2 separate regions of the Homo sapiens genome follow, and region 2 is linked to region 1. The links are contacts of gene promoters, found by promoter capture Hi-C in human tissues and cell types (Jung and others, 2019). All regions are on one chromosome and are shown on one strand. The core of a region is centred on a gene start or on the middle of the fragment in contact, and the rest is flanking DNA. Distances in the headings are between cores, read along the strand shown.

Evidence for each region. Contacts are between HindIII fragments. The study calls those that stand out against the background at their distance.
Region 2: a fragment that was not itself captured here is called in contact with the fragment with the promoter of CXCL2 in region 1 in 2 of the 25 tissues and cell types used here (H1 embryonic stem cells and IMR-90 fibroblasts).

Annotation. Positions count from the first base shown.
Region 1 is chr4:74,097,043-74,101,381 of GRCh38, reverse strand. It overlaps CXCL2 (C-X-C motif chemokine ligand 2), which reads left to right and starts at 2,187. Exons shown (of 4, transcript NM_002089.4): 1 at 2,187-2,361; 2 at 2,460-2,583; 3 at 2,698-2,781; 4 at 3,611-4,339. The coding sequence starts at 2,262. The coding sequence ends at 3,626. The HindIII fragment of the contact is 5,836 bases long and covers 1-2,905 here.
Region 2 is chr4:73,923,186-73,927,524 of GRCh38, reverse strand. No RefSeq gene overlaps it. Among named protein-coding and RNA genes, the nearest start is that of CXCL1, 56 kb to the right of the region's middle. The HindIII fragment of the contact is 9,274 bases long and covers 1-4,339 here.

The sequences.
Region 1 (4,339 bases), core at 938-3,437:
TTGAAACTAAAATTTCAAACAAACAATGGATCAAAAAATTATTGTAAGATCCCATAAGGATAGAAATGCACCCTCCTTTAAAATTTCTGATGCTGAAAAATTTTAAAGGTAAATTAGAAGATGTTTCTTTGAAAATATTTCTTTCTTTGTGCGTGTGTGTGTTCATAAGGCTTTATCAGAGTGCTTCTGTTTAGTTAAGTGTCTTAGTCAGTTTGAGCTGCTATAACAGAATGCCATAGGCTAGGGGGCTTAAACAACAATTATTTCACAGTTCTGGAGGCTGGGGAGTCCAAGATTAAGATCCTGGCAGATTTCATGCTTGGTGAGGGCCCTCTTCTCAGTTTGCAGATGGTGGCCTTCTTGCTGTGTCCTCACAATGCAGAAAGGGAGAGAGAGCCAGAGATCGAAAGCTCACTGATCTCTTGCTGTAATGGCACTTATCCCATCATGGGGGCCATACCTTCATAACCTCACCTAAACCTAATTACTTCCCATGGTCCTGTCTTCTAATATTAGCACATAAGGGAGTCAGGGCTTCATCATCTGAATTTGAAAGAGACACAAACATCCAGCCTATATCAGTAAGGTTGTGAAACACCACTTCTATTTTGTTATTTAACAAATATTTACATAACACTTTACATGCACTGATGGTTTACACATATTAACAATCAATACTTCTAACAACCCCGTGAGGCAGGCACTATTATAAGCTCTTCTACAGGGGAGAAACATGAGCAAATAAAGCATAAATTACCAAGGGTCATGAAGCAAGTTAGTGGTATGGCTGAAACTTCAGCCCTGACATCCTTATCAAGTGATCTCTACAGCTGCAGCATCCAGGGAACACTCTATTCCTAAGGTAGTCCCACTTCTTCATCCTCGTGCCACTCCCAGCCCTTCTCATAGCAGTGGCAGAATATCTCCATATCCCTGAAGTCTGCATCCACCAGGAAGAATTAAGACAGAGTATTGTAGGCCTACAGCTTAATTTTTAAAGAGAGGGGGTCATTGAAATTGATGATGAAAAGTCAGTAATCCAGTGAGAAGGCATCAGCTAAACAGGCTTGGAAATGCTTTATTGACATTCCTCTAGAACTAAAATTTCCTCGATAGCTGTTTCTCTAGAGGGAACCAATCCCAGGATGCTGGTAAATACATATGGCATGGAAATGCAATTATGTTAGCAATCTAGTATGTATATATCAGACATGTCTGCTTGTGCTTAGAGTAGTAAACAAGCGGAGTCTCATTCCCTGCTCCTTTTCTGGTGGTGTCTATGGCCTTTTCTGCCCAGGGACAGCACTAGAAAAGGCAGACCTCCTGAGCCCAACAGGCCCCTCGCAGCTCCCAGTGACTTCCATGGATCAAAACACAGACTTCCATACAACAAAAAATTGATGCTACTGGAATTACTAGAGTTCGAGATGTTCCAAGATTTCAAAGAGAGAAAGGATGGGGGATTGCAACACTGTTAACTAAAATAAACACTGAATTGACCCTTGGCAATGGTCTGTTCCCGCACCCAACACCTGGCTCCACTACGTTGAAACACACACACACACACACACACACACACACACACACACACACACACGTGATATTTGCTTTTAAGATCATAAAACACCAGGAAGGAGACAAAAGCTCTTATGCGTCATCTGAGATGACACATGTACTGTTAAAGCGTGCGTTTATTTCAAACATTAATGAAATTTGCAGAACCCAAACTAAAGAGAGAGGATAGATAAGACATGCTGCAGTTCTTGCCCTAACTTTCAATCCCAACAACTGAAATGTCTTCCAGAGAAGTAACTCCCCCCGGTAAGGATGTAGCGCGGTCCCTACGTGGGTCTAAGGGATCTGACCCACGACGCACTGCACTGGGTTCACGAAGCGCCTCCTCGCAGGCGGTTATCTCGGTATCTCTGAGAGCGGCGGGCTCTCGCTCCCGCTCCAGGGATTCGGGGCAGAAAGAGAACATCCCACAGTTGGCGGGAGTTACGCAAGACAGTCAGACCCGGACGTCACTCGTGAGTGCCCCGACCCCCCTCCACCCCAGAGGCGGGGCCATCGCCTTCCTTCCGAACTCGGGATCGATCTGGAGCTCCGGGAATTTCCCTGGCCCGGGACTCCGGGCTTTCCAGCCCCAACCATGCATAAAAGGGGTTCGCCGTTCTCGGAGAGCCACAGAGCCCGGGCCACAGGCAGCTCCTTGCCAGCTCTCCTCCTCGCACAGCCGCTCGAACCGCCTGCTGAGCCCCATGGCCCGCGCCACGCTCTCCGCCGCCCCCAGCAATCCCCGGCTCCTGCGGGTGGCGCTGCTGCTCCTGCTCCTGGTGGCCGCCAGCCGGCGCGCAGCAGGTGGGTCCCGGCGCCCTGGGGTCCCCGGGCCGGACGCGGCTGGGGTGGGCGCCCCGCGCCGACAGCCCCGCTCAATCAGCGAGTCTCTTCTTCCCTAGGAGCGCCCCTGGCCACTGAACTGCGCTGCCAGTGCTTGCAGACCCTGCAGGGAATTCACCTCAAGAACATCCAAAGTGTGAAGGTGAAGTCCCCCGGACCCCACTGCGCCCAAACCGAAGTCATGTAAGTCTCGCCCATCGCTGCCGCTGCCACTGCTGGGGTCCCCGACTCTCCCGCTGCCCCAAACCCTGTCCTCAGCCCGACCTCCTGTCTCACGAGATTCCCTTCTCTCTGCAGAGCCACACTCAAGAATGGGCAGAAAGCTTGTCTCAACCCCGCATCGCCCATGGTTAAGAAAATCATCGAAAAGATGCTGAAAAAGTAAGTTATAATTTCCATGTACACAGGCGACTGGAGCTGTTGGTCAGAAATACTGGCGTCTGCCCCCTAAAAAGTAAATCAGGAAAACCCAGGGTTAGCTGCAGGACTGAAAAAATTATTATTTTCACAAAGTTGCCATTAAGGTTATTAATCTGTTCTGGTGCCAGAGGATATTCCCAGTGCCCAGGGTCACCACCCAGGTTCTTCCCTCCTGCCAGTGAATGTAGGTAAAACTGCTTTCATGTAAGGTCTCATTGGAGTTTGCCAGTTGTGCTGAAGTGTTTTCCACCTGTTAAAAAACACAAGCTTCATTTCCCCTAGTTCCTACTGACTTTCAGACCTGAAAAGCAGACCCCCTGGTTTTTTGTAAAAGTTTAGGGTTGAAGTGCAGAGATTTCACAATAATATTGCACTGGGTATATAACTGGTTGCCACCACCTATTAGCCATGTCACTCAGAGACAATATTATTTAGTTTATCTGAGACTCAGCAAAACAGGGAAAATAATGGTAGCTACATCATGAGGTTGCTTTGAGGCTCAAGTGAGGCCCAGTATGACAAAGAGCAATAGGCTCTGGCTGTTTTAGCCAGTAAAACAGTGTAGACTGCCACTCCTCCACCCCACGTCACCCCCATTCCTAAAAGAGCATCCCAAGCCTAGAGGTCCTTGCCACACAGCACAGCTGTCACAGGCAGTACCCACTTGGGTGCCAGGCTGGGGAAACTGCATTCAGAAAACTCTAGAGCCTGGGGAAACAGGACAGGAGAAGACTGTTGTGCAGTCAGCTTTCCTGAGCACCTACTCAGGGCACCCATTTTCTCATTACAGTGGCAAATCCAACTGACCAGAAGGAAGGAGGAAGCTTATTGGTGGCTGTTCCTGAAGGAGGCCCTGCCCTTACAGGAACAGAAGAGGAAAGAGAGACACAGCTGCAGAGGCCACCTGGATTGCGCCTAATGTGTTTGAGCATCACTTAGGAGAAGTCTTCTATTTATTTATTTATTTATTTATTTGTTTGTTTTAGAAGATTCTATGTTAATATTTTATGTGTAAAATAAGGTTATGATTGAATCTACTTGCACACTCTCCCATTATATTTATTGTTTATTTTAGGTCAAACCCAAGTTAGTTCAATCCTGATTCATATTTAATTTGAAGATAGAAGGTTTGCAGATATTCTCTAGTCATTTGTTAATATTTCTTCGTGATGACATATCACATGTCAGCCACTGTGATAGAGGCTGAGGAATCCAAGAAAATGGCCAGTGAGATCAATGTGACGGCAGGGAAATGTATGTGTGTCTATTTTGTAACTGTAAAGATGAATGTCAGTTGTTATTTATTGAAATGATTTCACAGTGTGTGGTCAACATTTCTCATGTTGAAGCTTTAAGAACTAAAATGTTCTAAATATCCCTTGGACATTTTATGTCTTTCTTGTAAGGCATACTGCCTTGTTTAATGTTAATTATGCAGTGTTTCCCTCTGTGTTAGAGCAGAGAGGTTTCGATATTTATTGATGTTTTCACAAAGAACAGGAAAATAAAATATTTAAAA
Region 2 (4,339 bases), core at 685-3,184, 170 kb after region 1:
TGCTGCTAGATTCAATTTGCCGGTATTTTGTTGAGAACATTTGCATCAATGTTCATCAAGGATATTGGCATAAAGTTTTCTTTTTTTTTTTTCTTGTATCTCTGTCAGGCTTTGGTGTCAGGATGATGCTGGCCTCATAGAATGAGTTAGAGAGAAGTCCCTTCTCCTCAATTGTTAGGAATCGTTTCAGTAGGAATGGTACCAGCTCTTCTTTACATGTGGTCAAATTAGTTGTAAATCCATTTGGTCCTGGGGTTTTTTTAGTTGGTATTCTATTTATTACTGTCTCAATTTCAGAGCCCAGTATTGGTCTGTTCAGGGATTCAGTTTCTTCCTGGTTCAGTCTTGGTGTATGTGTCCAATAATTTATCTATTTCTTTTAGATTTTCTAGTTTATGTGCATAAAGATGTTCATAATATTCTCTGATAGTTGTTTGTATTTCTGGGAGGTCAGTGGTAATATCCCCTTTGTCATTTCTGACTGTGGGTATTTGAATCTTCCCTCTTTTCTTCTTTATTAGTCTAGCTAGCAGTCTATATACTTTATTAATTTTGTCAAAAAATACAGCTTCTGGATTTGTTGATCTTCTGAATGGTTTTTCATGCCTCAATCTCCTTCAGTTCAGCTCTGATTTTGGTTATTTTTTGTCTTCTGCTAGCTTTGGGACTGATTTACATTTGGTTCTCTAGGTTTTTTAGTTGTGATTTTAGGTTGCTAACTTGAGATCTTTCTAACTTTTTGATGTGGGCATTTGGTGCTGTTACTTTCCCTCTTAACACTGCCTTAGCTGTGTCCCAGACATTCTGATTTGTTGAATCTTTGTTCGCAGTAGTTTCAATGAATTTCTTGATTTCTGTCTTAATTTTACAATTTACTCAAAAGTCATTCAGGGGCACGTTTTTCATTTTCCTTGTAATCGTTATGAGTGAATTTCTTAGTCTTGATTTCTAATTTAATTGTGTTGTGTTCTGAGTGACTCTTTGTTATGACTTCAGTTCTTACTTCCAATTATCTGATCAGTTTTACAGTATGTGCCACGTGGCAATGAGAAAAATGTATATTCTGTTGCTTTGGGGTGGACAGTTCTGTAGGTATCTATCAGGTCCATTTGATTCAGTGCTGGGTTTAGGTCCTGAATAGCTTTGCTAATTTTTTCTCAATGATCTGTCTAATATTGTCAGTGGAGTATTAACGTCTCCCACTATTATTGTGTGGAAGTCTAAGTCTCTTTGAAGGTCTCTAACAACTTGCTTTATGAGTCTGGGTGCTCTTGTGTTCAGTGCATCTATCTTTAGAATAGTTATATCTACTTGTTAAATTGAACCCTTTACTATTTTGTAATGCCCTTGTCTTTTTTGACCTTTGTTGGTTTAAAGTCTGTTTTATCAGAAACTAGGATTGCAACCCCTGCTTTTTTCTGTTTTCCATTTGCTTGGCAGATTTTTCCTCTATGCCTTTATTTTGAGCCTATGTGTGTTATCAGATGTGAGATCAGTCTCTTGAAGATAGCATACCAAAAGGTCTTGGTTCTTTATCCAGTTTGCCACTCTGTGTCTTTTAATTGGGACATTTAGACAATTTATATTTAAGGTTAGTATTGATATGTTTGGATTTGATCCTGTCATCATGATGTTAGCTGGTTATTTTGCAGACTTATTTATGTGGTTGCTTTATAGAAAATGCCTCAGCATTTGCTTGTCTGAAAAAGACATTATTTCTCTTTTGCTTATGAAGCTTAGTTTGGCTGGATATGAATTTCTGGGTTAGAATTTCTTTTCTTTAAAAGTGTTGATTATTGCCCCCCAATCTTATTCACTGCAAAGTGATTCCATTAAAACACAAACCTAATTAGGTTACCTTTCTGCCTTGGGAGTCTTCAATGGTTCTGTATCATCTACAGCAAATACCACTGGGCATGAGTAACGTATTAGTTTGCTTGATAACAAAGTACCACACACTGAGTGACTTAAAAACATAAATTTATTTTCATACAATTCTGGAGGCTAGAAGTCAAAGATCAAGGTGTCAGCTGAGTTTTTTTTTCCCAAACATTTCTAGACATTAAGAGAGTATATACATGGTTATAAAAAGTCACTTAGTCTGGAGTATATTGAAATCAAATTTATTTGTATATGATAGATTCAAAATATGTAATATATAAAATATCATAAATAAGTCCAAGAAGAAATATATAAATATTTCATTAGAAAATTTTAACATATATTTTTAAATAATTGATAATTTATGCAGAAAAGACATTAAGATACAGACTATTAAAAAGCACAATTAATACATTCCATGCAATGGATATATCTGTATATATGTTTTTACATATATATCGATATATATGTATATATGTATATACATGTATCGATACATATACACATATATATCGATATATATACACATATACATATATATGTAAAAACATATATACATGATATATATATCAATATATGTAAAAACATATATACATGATATATATATCAATATATACATATCCATTGCATGAAATGTATTAATTGTGCTTTTTATGTATATGTATGTATATTAATATATATCTCCACATACTCAATTTTCAATAGCTACAGAGTATATTCTTTTCTTAAAAAAGCCCACTTTATTGAGGTGTAACTGATATACAAAAAGAAAAATAACAAACAGTTAAGGAGGAAATTTTTGGAAGTAATGGATAGGTTCATGGCAAAGATTATGGTGATAGTTTCAGAGAACATAGTATTTTCAAGAAGACATGGACCATTTATGAAAGCTGACCACATATTTAGATAGAAGGCAAGACTCAAAAATACTTTTCGATGTTTGTTGTGATACACACAATGATCTGTGATTATTGTGTGAATAAGTTAGGTATCAACCACAAAACTGTACTTTAGAAAAAAACTCAACAATACTGAAAGCAACATATATTTGGAAATTAATAAAATCACTTCTAAATAACTCAAAAATCAGAAAATCAGAAAATACATAAAAACTTATTAGAAAATATATAGAATCAACTGATAATTTTGCCGTATGTTGAACACATGAGACCTAGGTAATGTAGGGACATTTACAGCTTTAAAATGCTATGCTAGAAAATGAACTTAAAATATCTAAATTAAATAAAAAGACAAAGAGAAGGAACTAGATATAAGAGTAGAAATTTATGAAATTGGAAACACACATTCAATAGAAAGGATCACCAAAACCAAGAGTTGGTTGTTGAATAGATTTTGGTGTGATTGGTCAAGACTGCAGACATTACAAAGTTAACAAGAAGATGTTATCATTTGGTGGCGATTAATGTGAAAATAGGTAAAATGGACAAATTTGTAGAAACATATAACAGTAAATTAAAGAGGAAATATTATATTTAAATAAACCTGTAACCTTTAATAAAGTTGAATTAATACTTACAATATTTCCTACCCAAGAAATGCACAAAACCAGCCATTTTTAATAGGGAAGTCTACCAAATATTCAGGAAAAAAAATTCAAACTTACAGAAATTATTTCACAGTGTCAAAATTTAGATCCCTTTCTGACTTACTACATAAGGCTGACATATTCCTGATAATAAAACCTGACAAGAGCTATTTCTGAAAGGAATTTTTCAGGTGAATCACAATATGACTATAAATGTAAAAGTTCTTTAAAAATAAAGGATTAGAAAACTGAAAATTAGAAGTTTAAAAAATACATCAAGGGATACAAGATTGACTCAATATAGGAAAGTCAATCAATATAATTCACTAAGTTGAAATGTCAATGAAAAAATATAAGAACTCGTTAAATATTCAATATAATTATCAGGGTTTATTTTACTACATAGTATATATAATACTTCTCAATGGTAAAAATCAGCTATTACAATATGATGCCATTTTGCAAAAATATGTTTATTGAAAAGTAATATGATCTAGGAATGGAAGCCAAAATTCTAATTCTAGGATTTGATAAATAGGACTTTTCTAAGTCTGTCACAAGGTGGCCCCAAATCCATATTCTTCATGGCTCTGCATTTGTGGAAAATGAATCAAACAGCAAAAAGAAGGTAATACAGCAAAAATCTAAGGTAATAATAATCCAGTGTATACATAGCCCACTTAATAATCAATTGTCCACTTGGCTAAAAGAAGAGAGAAAAGCAATCTTATTACATTTGAAATGAGGAAGGAAGCTGATAAATGCATCAAGGCATTTTTCTTCAAGATTAGTCTCAACAAAAGTAATAAATAATCCTTTTGACATTCAGTATTTCGATGAGCACACAGGCTAGTAATATGCAGGCTTGGCTGAGAAAAATCTGTGATCTTTACCTTTTCCCTCTTTTCTATT